Linked DNA regions of Homo sapiens: region 1 is linked to region 2. The links are contacts of gene promoters, found by promoter capture Hi-C in blood cells and fetal thymus (Javierre and others, 2016). All regions are on one chromosome and are shown on one strand. Each heading gives the region's core, a stretch centred on a gene start or on the middle of the fragment in contact. The rest is flanking DNA. Distances are from core to core; before and after follow the strand shown.

Evidence for each region. The method cuts DNA at HindIII sites, captures the fragments that hold promoters and counts their contacts. A CHiCAGO score of 5 or more calls a contact.
Region 1: a contact is called between a fragment that was not itself captured here and the fragment with the promoter of PRKDC in region 2, in 1 of 17 cell types (total B cells). The highest score is 5.6, in total B cells.

The regions. Positions count from the first base shown.
Region 1 is chr8:46,921,097-46,927,049 of GRCh38, reverse strand. No RefSeq gene overlaps it. Among named protein-coding and RNA genes, the nearest start is that of LINC00293, 83 kb to the right of the region's middle. The HindIII fragment of the contact is 404 bases long and covers 4,063-4,466 here.
Region 2 is chr8:47,957,425-47,963,145 of GRCh38, reverse strand. PRKDC (protein kinase, DNA-activated, catalytic subunit) reads left to right here and starts at 3,010. Exons shown (of 86, transcript NM_006904.7): 1 at 3,010-3,173; 2 at 5,715-5,721. The coding sequence starts at 3,020. It overlaps MCM4 (minichromosome maintenance complex component 4), which reads right to left and starts at 2,205. Exons shown (of 17, transcript NM_182746.3): 1 at 2,132-2,205; 2 at 1,932-2,015; 3 at 1,466-1,630; 4 at 930-1,093; 5 at 740-841; 6 at 287-382; 7 at 106-201. The coding sequence starts at 2,001. RefSeq lists silencers at 1,772-2,171, 2,842-3,141, 3,152-3,201 and an enhancer at 3,382-3,541. The HindIII fragment of the contact is 8,899 bases long and covers 1-4,676 here.

The DNA of each region.
Region 1 (5,953 bases), core at 3,015-5,514, 1.0 Mb after region 2:
GAGTTGAGCAGCAGGTTCTTAGAGAAGGCAGTCCGTATTATCCATCTACTGCTGTGTAACACATCGCCACAAATTTAGCATCTTAAAACATGACACATTTATCTCACAGTTTATGTGGGTCAGGAATCCAGGCCCAGTGGGGCTGAGTCCTCTGATTCTGGCCCTGGAACAAGCCTGCAAACAAGGTGTAAGCCAGGGTTGTTGTCTCACCTTGCAATGGATAATTTTATGTGTCAACTTGACTGGATTAAGGGACACCCAGATAGCTAGTAAAGCATTTTTGGGTGAGTCTGTGAAGGTGTTTCTGGAAGAGATTAGCAATTGAATCAATGGATGGTGTTTTTGCTGGGGTTCTCCAGAAAAAAACCAGTAGGATATCAATATCTAGCTACAGACAGAGATATGTGAGAAGAGACTTATTAGGGGAACTGGATCACATGATTATGAAGCCTGCAAAGTCCCACAATAAGCCGTGTGCAAGTTGGAGACCCAGGGAAGCCCATATGTAACTCTCAGTCCCAGGCTCAATGTCTGGGAATCCAGTGGGGTGGTGGGGGCTGGGGGATGGTTCTGGTGTGAGTCCTGGAGTCCACAGGCCAGAGAGCTTGGAGTTCTGATGACCAAGGGCAGAAGTGTGTCCTAACTCCAGGAGAGAGAGCGGGATAATCACCTTTCCTCTGCCTTTTTCTTTAGGATTCTCTCCAGCTGATTGGACAGTGCCTACCCACATCCAGGGCATCTTCCCCACTCAGCCTTACCCACACCCAGGAATAATGCTTTATCGGTGCTCTAGGTATTTCTTAACCCAGTCAAGCTGGCGCACAAAATTAACCATCACACTGAGTAAAAAAGAATTGTCCTCACTGATGTGGGCTGGCATCCTGAACATAACAGAACAGAAGGCTGGGGAAGAGGGGATCTGCTGAGCTAAGGCACGCATCTACTCCTGCCCTCCAACATAGGGGCTCCTGGTTCTCAGGCCACTGGATGCTGATTGACCTACACCATGGGCTTTCCTGGGTCTCCAGCTTGCAGAGGACAGGTTATGGGGCTGACTCCTCAGCCTCTGTAATCACAATTTCCATAATAAATCCCCTTTCATATATCCACATATATACGCTATCAATTTTCTTTCTCTGGAGAACCCTGGCTAATCCCTACCTGAGATCTTGGCTGGGACAGGGCTGTTCCTCCCTCCTGTGATATTGGCAGGACTCGGTTCTCTGTGGGTTATTATGCTGAGCCCCTTGATTTCCTGATGGCTGTGGCTGCAGGACACCCTCAGTTCCTGGCCACACGGACAGCTCATGGTGTAGCAGCTAGCGTCATACAAGCTGGCAAGGGTGAGTGTCTGCTGTCAATAAGGATGTTACAATCTCATGTTATTCAATCACATCTGTCACAGAAGTGGCATCCCCTTGACCCTGAGAGATCCTAACATCACAGCGAGTTACTCAAGAAGAGGGAATTGCACTAGGCTGTGAATACCAGCAAGCAGGGGCTGCTGGGGCAATCTAGAGGCCACCTACTGCAGCCAGCCTGCTGGCCGCTGGTGATGCCACCCCCTGGCATCCAGGTCTTCATGTCACCTCTTCCCCTAAGTGTGGGCAGGACTTGTGGCCAATTCAACAGCCCACGAAATGCCAATCCTCCAAAGACAACATGAGCTTGGAAGTGGATCTCTCCCGAGTCACATTTTGAGATGAGACCTTCAACTCTGGTCAACATCTTGGCTGAAGGCTCATGAGACCTCCTAAGGAAAAGAACCCAGGTGAGCCCAGATTTCTGCCCCTCCAGAAACTGCGAGATGATGACTGCAAGGAATTTAAAGCTGGTATGTTTGTGGAAATGTGTCACACAGCAATAGATAACTAATGCACCATTTGCAATAATTCCTCCAATGGCAGGAACTGCCGACAAAAGGTTTGGGATGCTGGGAGGATTTCTGGTATGAAGAGATTCAGAAGCTGTGCATCTAAACTTCCCGGAGAGACTTAGTGTAGAGATAAACCCTGGGGTAAATGAAAAGAGAGCACTGTAGCAAGTCTGTGCATAAAGCACTGGCCTATGTGATACAGTGATTAACAAGTCCACCATGTATTATGCAATATTATAGAATACCCCTCTTTTCTGTGGCTCTTGTTAATTTTTTGTACCTCTGAATGGTTATGCACTTGGCAAAAAGTTCCTGATGTGTGAACATAAATGTCCAAAGCATGGGCCCGGCCTTTCCTTTCCTTGAAGTTTTCACTATTTATCACCAGACATCAACTATCTGTTTGAGTTTGGCACTGGAGATGCTGACCTGAGCTGGCCTCCTGGCATAGTTTTTTCACTGGGGGAAACTTTCACCCTAAAAATGGCATCCCTCTAGCAAGGAGTCATGTGTCTTGAATCCTACTTTCGGCTCAAATCCTGGGGTGCTATTGGCTGAGGAAAAGTCCTCCTTTTGCTGCCTTTGAGATGTTTGTAAAGCCCCATGGCCCCCCAGCCTGGCCTGTTTCCCCTGGGAGGCCTCCCCATGGGCAGGACATGCTATGTGCTTCTCATGCCTGATGGGGCTGCTCATGCAAGCCCAGGTGAAGTGATGGGTGATGGAACCTGGGAGGGATGGTGTGAGTCCTTATGCTTCTTGCCCTGGTGCTCAACAATTCTCCTTGGGACCCAAGTGGCCCCAGATGTTGGCATGCATCAGGAAGGATCCAAGAACAGCTGGGCTGGCCCGATGGTCTACCTCATGGGTTTCAGGGCACTGAGAGCTGGCCAGTCACATTCCCATGGCAGCCCAACAAGGCCCAGCAGAGGGGTGGGTGGTGGGATGGCAGGGCTTGTAGGGCAGAGCATTCTGATGGGCCAGGGCCTAGTTTGAGTAGGGCTGCTCTGTGGGCCTATATCCACAGGCATTGCTGTGGCTTTGGCCAAGACCTCTGGGCTCCCTGAACATCAGGCAGCCTCTCCTCCTTTAGGGAAGATGGACAGTTACCCCTGAGCAGGGCCATGCGGGGCAAAGCACAATGGTGGTTGTGAAGTTTTTTCAGAGACAAGATGCTGTAACCACAACACGTGTGGATTTCCACTGCAGGAGCACCCAGTGCCATGTTAAAAGACATGTGAGTTTGGAGTTTATGTGGGTATGGTATTGGCTTAGTGGTTTCTCCCCATCTTTTTTGTCTACTTTTCTCTTTGTCTACCTGCTTGCCATGAGCCTGAGGGCAGGGCCTGAATCCAGCAGCACCAGAACCCAGGTGGCCTGGCTCTCCAATAAATGGAAAAGAAAGCTGGGTGGAAATATGGAGGACAATGGTAAAGGCCTGGATTACAACTGAGTATAGACAGATCTGAAGTGGCCAGTGTCCAGGTGCTGAACTTATAATAGTCCATCCTATGCGGCTTAGCGATTCCAGCCATCAGCCATTCCTGGTCCCTGCTCTGCCTGCCTGCAGACACCAGGCTCCCCACAAGGCACTTTCCCACTGCCCTTGATCTCAGGGCATTCATGTCTCCCTGCTCTATTCGGAAACTATCCTGCACAGACCACAGCTAAGCACACCACTACCATAAGAGTCTAGCTGCATTTCTCTCTGGCCCCAACTCTGGCCCTCACTCCTCATTCTGGTTTCCTCTCTTTAACCTCTGAGCCTCTGCACTTGCTGTTCCTCTTGCCGAGCACACCCTTCCTCTCCATTCCACATAGTACAATCTTACTCATGCATCAAGCCTGAACACAGGAGGATGGCTCCGACCACTCGGTGAGTTCCCACTTCTCTAAATTCCTGTTATTAGATCACCAGTCCTCTTACTTTGTCCTCAATTGTAGTTGGACATGATTGATTTAAACGACAGAGGCATTTGTCTGGCTTCGTCTCTGAGACTGCCATCTCCCTGTAGACAGGGAGCAAACGTTGTGCATCTTCTATGTGTCTCCGCAGCTTGCATGGTGTTGGCAAGTAACCGAGACTGGCATGTGCATTGAGGTGGATGGGCGAGCAGGCCAAACACCGCTCCCAGGAAGATGGAGAAGATAGGCAGAAAGGCGGCAAGGATGCAAGACAGAGAAAAGCTTGGGGTGAAAAAATCCTACCTAGGTGCAGGTGCTGGGGCTGCAGACCCTAGAGCTTCTCAAAGGCAACTTGATGTTTTATAGTTCCATCCAGTCTCCAGCATCACCGTGTGGCCGCAGCATCTGTGGTATCCAAGCGACTTTATCCCTGGGGGAGTATGGGCATCTCCCTGGGAGGGTGTCCACAGGAGGACGTCAGGGCTCTGTGGGTGGCCTGGCATCTGGGGTCTGGGGATCGTGCTTGGAAGGAATCAGATAATGCCTGGAATCCAAGGCTTGACTCCTCCTTGTCTCCTAAGAGCTCCTTGGGAGTTGGGCTCCCGTTAAGTGGTTTTTGACCCCAGTTTTCCTGATTCTCAGATTCATCTGGCATGGAGGCTGGGTAGCTTTTCTGCATTCTGAAGCTTTCTTCCCACTGGCAGTGAGTTTATGGGAGTGCTTCTGTGCTGTTGTTCTATTTTTTACAGGAAAGGTTGAGTGACACTTCGAGGACAGGGCACACAGGCTGCCTTTGGGCCAGTTCCCAGCCAACAGGAAGTCACAGCTGGCTTTTGAGTTGGGAAGAGCTGGATTTCATTTTCATGTGACCCTGAGTCTGTTTCCTTATCCAGAAAACAGAGAGAACAATGGAATCCAGCTAACAGGGTTGGAGTGGGGAGGGATGGCTTACAGCAGAGCCTACCCGGGGACAGGCATGGCTGTGCTGGAGTGGCTGAAGCCACCTCACTCCTCTGAGCCTCAGCTCTCATCTGTAGAATGCTGCATCCTTAGGTCTGTCCCAGCTCCATTCCAGTCAGTCATGATGTGCTGATGGGCACCTCCCTGGCCAGGCGACCATCCATGGCTCAGCAGCCCAGCATAGGAACAGGTGTGTCTAAGAGCTTGGTGGGGCAGAGCCCACGTGCTCCCCCTTCACCGCCTTCCCCATCCCCAAAGGTCTCTGCACAGAGGCAGGTAAGCATATTTGGGAACAGAATAAAAGAGCAATCAAGGATTCTTTTGGGATCTGTGAATGACGGTAGTAACAGTTATTAAGCTCCTACTGTGTGCCAGAGAATTCTAGGAGACACTCCATGTGTGATAAATAACAGGACTCACAAGAGCCCCATGAAGGGCTGCTGTTGCCTGCGTTCTGTGGAAGTGGAAATTGAGCTTTAGAAGAATGAGCTGATCTGCCCATGACACACAGCTGGCAGGCAGAAGCGGAACCTGAGCCGACACCACCTGTGCAGACCCCAGGGCCTCTCACCTGCCCTCCCTAACCCAGAGGGATCTTCTTTATTTCAGCAGAGCCAGTGCATGGCACATGTGGATGGTGGGTCTCACCCCACATCCTCTGGGACATCGGCAAGAGACAGGAGTGACTTGGTGGGTGAGGGGCTGGCATGAACACCTAGCACAGTGTGGGGCAGGAGGGCAGGGCACTGCAGGACCTTGTGATGGGCAGCAGGGGCACAGCTTCCTCGGTGCCCTGTCCATTCATTTATCACTCAGCCATCTTCCGAGTGTCTGCTGGCAATGTGTCATCTGCCAGGCATCGTCTGATTCTCCTGGGTCTGACTGCAGACAGACTGTGCTGCCCTGGGAGCACGTGTCCCAAAGCAAGCCCATGGGAGAGGAGGGGTGACACCAATTTTTGCCCCACCCAGCCTGTTCCTCCTTCCCCTGAGCCCTGACCTGTCCTTCTCCAGGGGAGCCCCTGGCCTCCAGTCCCCTTCACCCAGACAACTCCGCAGCTCATTCTCCTTTCCAGGGCCCTCTGAGGATAAGCAACACAGGCTGTGTGCACTGAGATGAGAACTTCTGACCCTTTCTCCTCCTTTCCCTGGAGATCTAATTTAAAAGGTCTGGAGCAGGAGCCTGGGGGTCAGCGCATGGATTTTTGAAGGGCCA
Region 2 (5,721 bases), core at 1,761-4,260:
AAGTGTTTGCGCATACTATCTTCATTACTGAAGAATTTCTGTTATCTGGAAACATTCTTTCTAGACTGTTACTAAAATTCATCAAGGTCAAAGCTAAATTCTTACCTGTGGGTAAGAGATGAGTTGTCTGTACAAATTTTTGTCAAATGATTTGATGTGTTCACAGTTCACATTTAAAAATGGCTCACCAATAACATTAATCTAGAAAATAAAAATGAACAAGTTATATTTTGCTAATTTAACTATTTTAAAACACGTAACTTGAATTTAAAGAGTATTTGATTACCTCCCCAAGTCGTTGCATGTATAGAGGTTCAGTAATATCTATGCCAACATTTTCTTCTTCTTTAGCCAGAGGGTCAATAAAACGCTGAAGAAATCTCTTTAAGTGGAGAGAAAACTGTATTAGGCATATAGCATTTGGGAACAGGCAACTACTAAAAACACACAAAGTTATGAGTATGTCACTATCAGGAGACAGAAATAAATAATATTTTTCTTCCTTTTTCTTTTCTAAAATTTAATTTGGAGATGGAGTCTCACTATATTGGTCAGGCTGCTATCAAACTCCTGGCCTCAAGTGATCCTCCCACCTTGGCCTCCCAAAGTACTGGGATTATAGGTGTGAGCCACCACAGGTGGCCCTTCTAGTCATTATGGCTACTTAGATATAGATTATAAACACGGTCTCCCAACATTTTCAGAGCCCAAAGTAAGAATTTTAATACATGTAGCTCACCTGAAAGTTTTCTTTGCATGCTGCCACATTTACATCTGTTCCCCAGATCACAAGTTTTTGGCCTAGAGACTGCTCACTTGCCACTATATCTTCTGCTGCTGCCTACACAGAAAAACATGACAGAATCATGAAAACAGAGTTACCCACATGATACCCGCCATAAGATGGTTTCAGGAGACTGCATACTCACCCCGTCAGACTGCAGATCCACTTGCAGGCCCTTCTGTGCAGAGCCCAGGTCAGGCCTCTGTCTCACAGGTGTGCCCCTAACACCACTTCTTGGGGTTCCCTCTACCCGAGAGCTGGGAGTGCCGTATGTCAGTGGTGAACTAACATCAAAGTCAAGAGGGATAGCTATAAAAACAAAATTAGGAAATTCTGGTGGCATATCAAACCTGAAATTACAGCATGTTGTCTGTTGATCTATACCATCTAATCGCAACAGCAAACTGAATATTTATTGCAACCTGCGGTGGCTGAGATTCTGAGCACTCTTAAATGTTCTATTAAAAAAAAGCACCAGAGAAGCTGCTTCCTCTGCTCACTAAGCCCTAAAACTACTATTTTCTGCACTCCGTTCAGCTCCTCTGGTTAAGAACATGCTCAGTCACGTGCAGAGGGGATGCTTTAGGCGTTATGCCAACTGTTATAAAGCCAGTAAACCTGAGCAGATAAAGCATCAGCTGTGTATCAAGCACAGCAAAACCAAGATCTTCAGACACGCACCTGAAGAATGCATTTGGGGAGGGCTGGAAAACAGCACGTCCTGCGCAGCAGGGCTCTGCAGGTCCACTCCAGGCGAGGTTGGCATCGGCTGCAACTCCCCCGTGGAGGTGGAATCCTCGCCTCTACGTCTCTGAGAGGGAGATGACCTGGCATCCTCACTCCGAGCTTGTGTCACACAAAACAGAAAAGACAGCCATTAACTTTCAGGGCCGGCCTTCCTGGATTTGTCTTTTCCTTGGGGCATTATGACTCACCACTGAACCAAACCAAACAGAGGCAAATGGCAATCGAATTAAGCAGCACCCAGGCCACAGCCTGCTGTGGGTGTCTGTGCGCACCAAGCGGCAGCGCCCAGCCCGAGGCTGAGCGCCCGGGTCCCGCGCACCCACCCAGCGCTGCCAGCTGCGGCGAGAGGGCAGACGGGGCGGCGCCGGGGGCTGTAGTGGGCCCGGCTCGGGGGACTCACGCGTCTGGGCGGGGGTGGCCCTTCCACGCCGGCTGCCGCGGCGGCTCGGGGTCGACGCCGGGGACGACATAGTGCTCGGAGTACCTGCGCGACAAGGACAAGCTCGGGCCGGGCCCGCCTCCCGGCTTCCCTGCCCTGCTCCGCAGCGCGGACGTTCCCGTCGGCTCCGCGCCACGCCCTCCCCGCCGGCGCGCGGTTACCGTGGAAAGGCGGCCGCTTGCCGACGACGCTCGCGGACTCCGAGTCCACCTGGCGAGTAGCGCTCCCAAACCGCGAGACCCAGAGTTCCCGCCGGCGGCAAGGTCGTCTCCGCCCCTGGCGGGGCCTCACCAATCACAGCGGCGCTCGTACGTGGCTCCGCCTCCGGGAGGCGCCACTGCGCATCGGCAGGGGGGGACAGTGCCGCTTCTTTCAGCGCCCGTGCGTAAACCAGAAGTAGGCCTCGCTCGGCCCCCCTTGGTCCAGATGGTCTGACCCCCTGCGCGGCAGCGTTTTCGCGGGAAAACTGGGTCCTACAGCACCAGCTCTCGGGGTGTGTTCCTCTAGCGTTGGCTAGGGAGCGTGTGCTTCTTTATCCCTTAGGCGTTTTTGGTTAATAAGGACATTACAGATGCATTTCTCACTTAAAGATTTTTTTTATTAAAAAAAATTAAGGACGGGAGGTGGTGGGGATGGTCTCATTATGTTGCCCAGACTGGTCTCGAACTCCTGCGATCCCCCCGCCTCAGCTTCCTAAAGTGTTGGGACTGCAGGCGGGCATCACCGCCCCCGACCGCGTTTGTCGTTTTTTATCGAGGAACAAACTTGGAACTCTTGACCTAGGCCCCTCGCTTGTTTTATCTGCCTCTGGTATTTATTTAGCCAAGTCCAACACCAAGTAGCCACCCAAACTACCTCCGCAGGTCAGACGTTTTTCCTTAGGTTTCCATGTTGATTCGGGCCAAAGAGGCGCGCTTACTGGCCAGGCCTTCCCGCAGGGGTCCCCGGGAAAGTTCCTGCCGCCGCGCCCCGCAGCCCCGCCTCCGCGCGTAGGGGCATTTCCGGGTCCGGGCCGAGCGGGCGCACGCGCGGGAGCGGGACTCGGCGGCATGGCGGGCTCCGGAGCCGGTGTGCGTTGCTCCCTGCTGCGGCTGCAGGAGACCTTGTCCGCTGCGGACCGCTGCGGTGCTGCCCTGGCCGGTCATCAACTGATCCGCGGCCTGGGGCAGGAATGCGTCCTGAGCAGCAGCCCCGCGGTGCTGGGTGGGTACCGGCCCGAGCTGGGCCGCGGGTGGGTCCTGGCTTCCCGAGTCGTTCTGGAGCCGGGCAGCCCGGCGCTTCTCTGTGTTTAGATGACGGTATTTTGAAGTACAGCAATTAGATTCTTGGGGGAATTTCTGTGTATGTGTATAAAGGGATTTGTCATACTGCTTTTTACCCCCTAGTATTAGAGGAAAGATATTTTAAAGCCAAAGTTGGTGAAAACGACCCCTAATATGGCAATCATTGCTATGCAGAGTGGGGGGCAGGGCAAGAGAAATAATTTTTTTTTTTTTTGAGACGGAGTCTCGCTCTGTCGCCCAGGCTGGAGTGAAGTGGCGCGATCTCGGCTCACTGCAACCTCCGCCTCCCGGGTTCAAGCTATTCTCCTGCCTCAGCCCCCCGAGTAGCTGGGATTACAGGCGCGCGCCACCACGCCCGGCTAATTTTTTTGTATTTTTAGTAGAGATGGGGTTTCACCATGTTGGTCAGGCTGGTCTCGAACTCCTGACCTCGTGATCCCCCCGCCTCGGCCTCCCAAAGTGCTGGGATTACAGACGTGAGCCACCGGGCCCGGCCAAGAGAAAGTATTTTCTTTCACCTGAATCTCGCCTAATCCCACCAGTACCTTTTCCAAACCCCTCTATTTGCCGTTCCTACTTTGAGAAAAATTGAAGAAATGTAATTGAAGTCATGTTCTTTTAACTCTTTAGCAATGCCTGGGTGGGAACTTTTTCCCCTTTGTAGTAAAAGTGCCTCTTTTTAGCATTTTAAATATTCAAATACTTAATTATGTGGATCTCCTGTATTCCTTCTTTAAAACACGAGTATGCAGACCTTGATGTTGTGCCCTATTAAAAGGTGAGATTTTCTTCCGGAGGGTCTAGTAGTGAATATGGTGTAGGAATAACTTAAACAGTTTAAACTAGATGCTATATGTGGCACGGTGCGGTGGCTCATGCCTGTAATCCCAGCACTTTGGGAGGCTGTGGCAGCTGGATCACCTGAGGTCAGGAGATGGAGACCAACCTGACCAGTATGGTGAAACCTTGTCTCTACTAAAAATACAAAAATTAACTGGGCATGGTGGCGAGCGCCTGTAGTCCCAGCTATTCGGGAGGCTGAGACAGGAGAATGTCTTGAACCCAGGAGAAGGAGATTGCAGTGAGCCGAGATTGTGCCACTGCACTCCAGCCTGGGCAACAGAGCACGACTCCGTCCCAAAAAAAAAAAAAAAAAGATGCTATATACATGTATCCTATATGTACTCTATCTGTTGTCAAGAATATATTAACAATGGGGAAATATCAAACAAAAAACTAACATTGCGTGATTACTTTCTCTTCTCAGGGTTTCAAATTTAGAATTCATTTTTGTTCGTTTAGTAACTTGTTTCTAAAGCACTTCCAAGTTTACCTTCCATTTATGCCATATCTCCTTTCACTTGAGAGATTCCAGGGGAAGTGTATTAGTTCCTTATTGCTGCTGTAACAATTACCACAAGCTTAGTGGTTTAAAACAGCACAGGTCTGTTACTCTTACAGTTCCCACTGTAAGGGGGATTCTGTGAGTCAGAATCCCACACAGGTCTCACCAAGCTAGAACCAAAGTACCAGACAGGGCTGCTTTCTTTCTGAAGGCTCTTGGGGAGGATCCATTGCCTTATTCATTCAGGTTATATAGGATTGAGGTCCCTGACATTCCATACTTCTTGAAGCTGTCCCCTTTCCTTGGATCACAGCTCCCTTCCCTTGGTCTTCAAGGCCAGCAACAGCATGTCAAGTCCCCCTAACTAGAGGTTTGGAATCTCCCGCTTTCCCAACTTCCTGTCTCTCTGACCCACTCTTCTTCATCTCCTTACTTTAAGGGCCTGTGTGATTACATTGGGCTCTCTGGATAATCCAGTATGATCTTCCCATTTTAAGGTCAGCTGATTAGCTACCTTAATTCCATCTGCAAGCTCAATTTCCTTTTGCTATATACATTTAACATATTCACAAGATGTGACCCCAGGGATTGGGATGCAGGCATCTTTGGGGCCATTATTTTGCGTACTGCATCCCTGTGGAACATTGTCTAGAATTTTCTGCTTTGTTTTAATACAGCAACCTTGGGTTAGTGTTTTATATTTATAAGGCTGCCTTGAAAACCGTTGCAACCTTGGCCAGGCGCGGTGGCTCACGCCTGTAATCCCAGCACTTTGGGAGGCCGAGGCGGGCTGATCGTGAGGTCAGGAGATCGAGACCATCCTGGCTAACACGGTGAAACCCCGTCTCTACTAAAAATACAAAAAAAAAATTAGCCGGGCATGGTGGTGGGCACCTTTAGTCCCAGCTACTTGGGAGGCTGAGATAGGAGAATGGCGTGAACCCGGGAGGCGGAGGTTGCAGTGAGCCGAGATCGCGCCGCTGCACTCCAGCCTGGGCGACAGAGCGAGACTCCATCTCAAAAAAAATAATAAGAAAATCATTGCAACCCCTTTAGGAGTGGTTTACATGATGCTCTTGGCACTCTCTTAACTTGTTTACTTATTTTTTTGAACAGCATTACA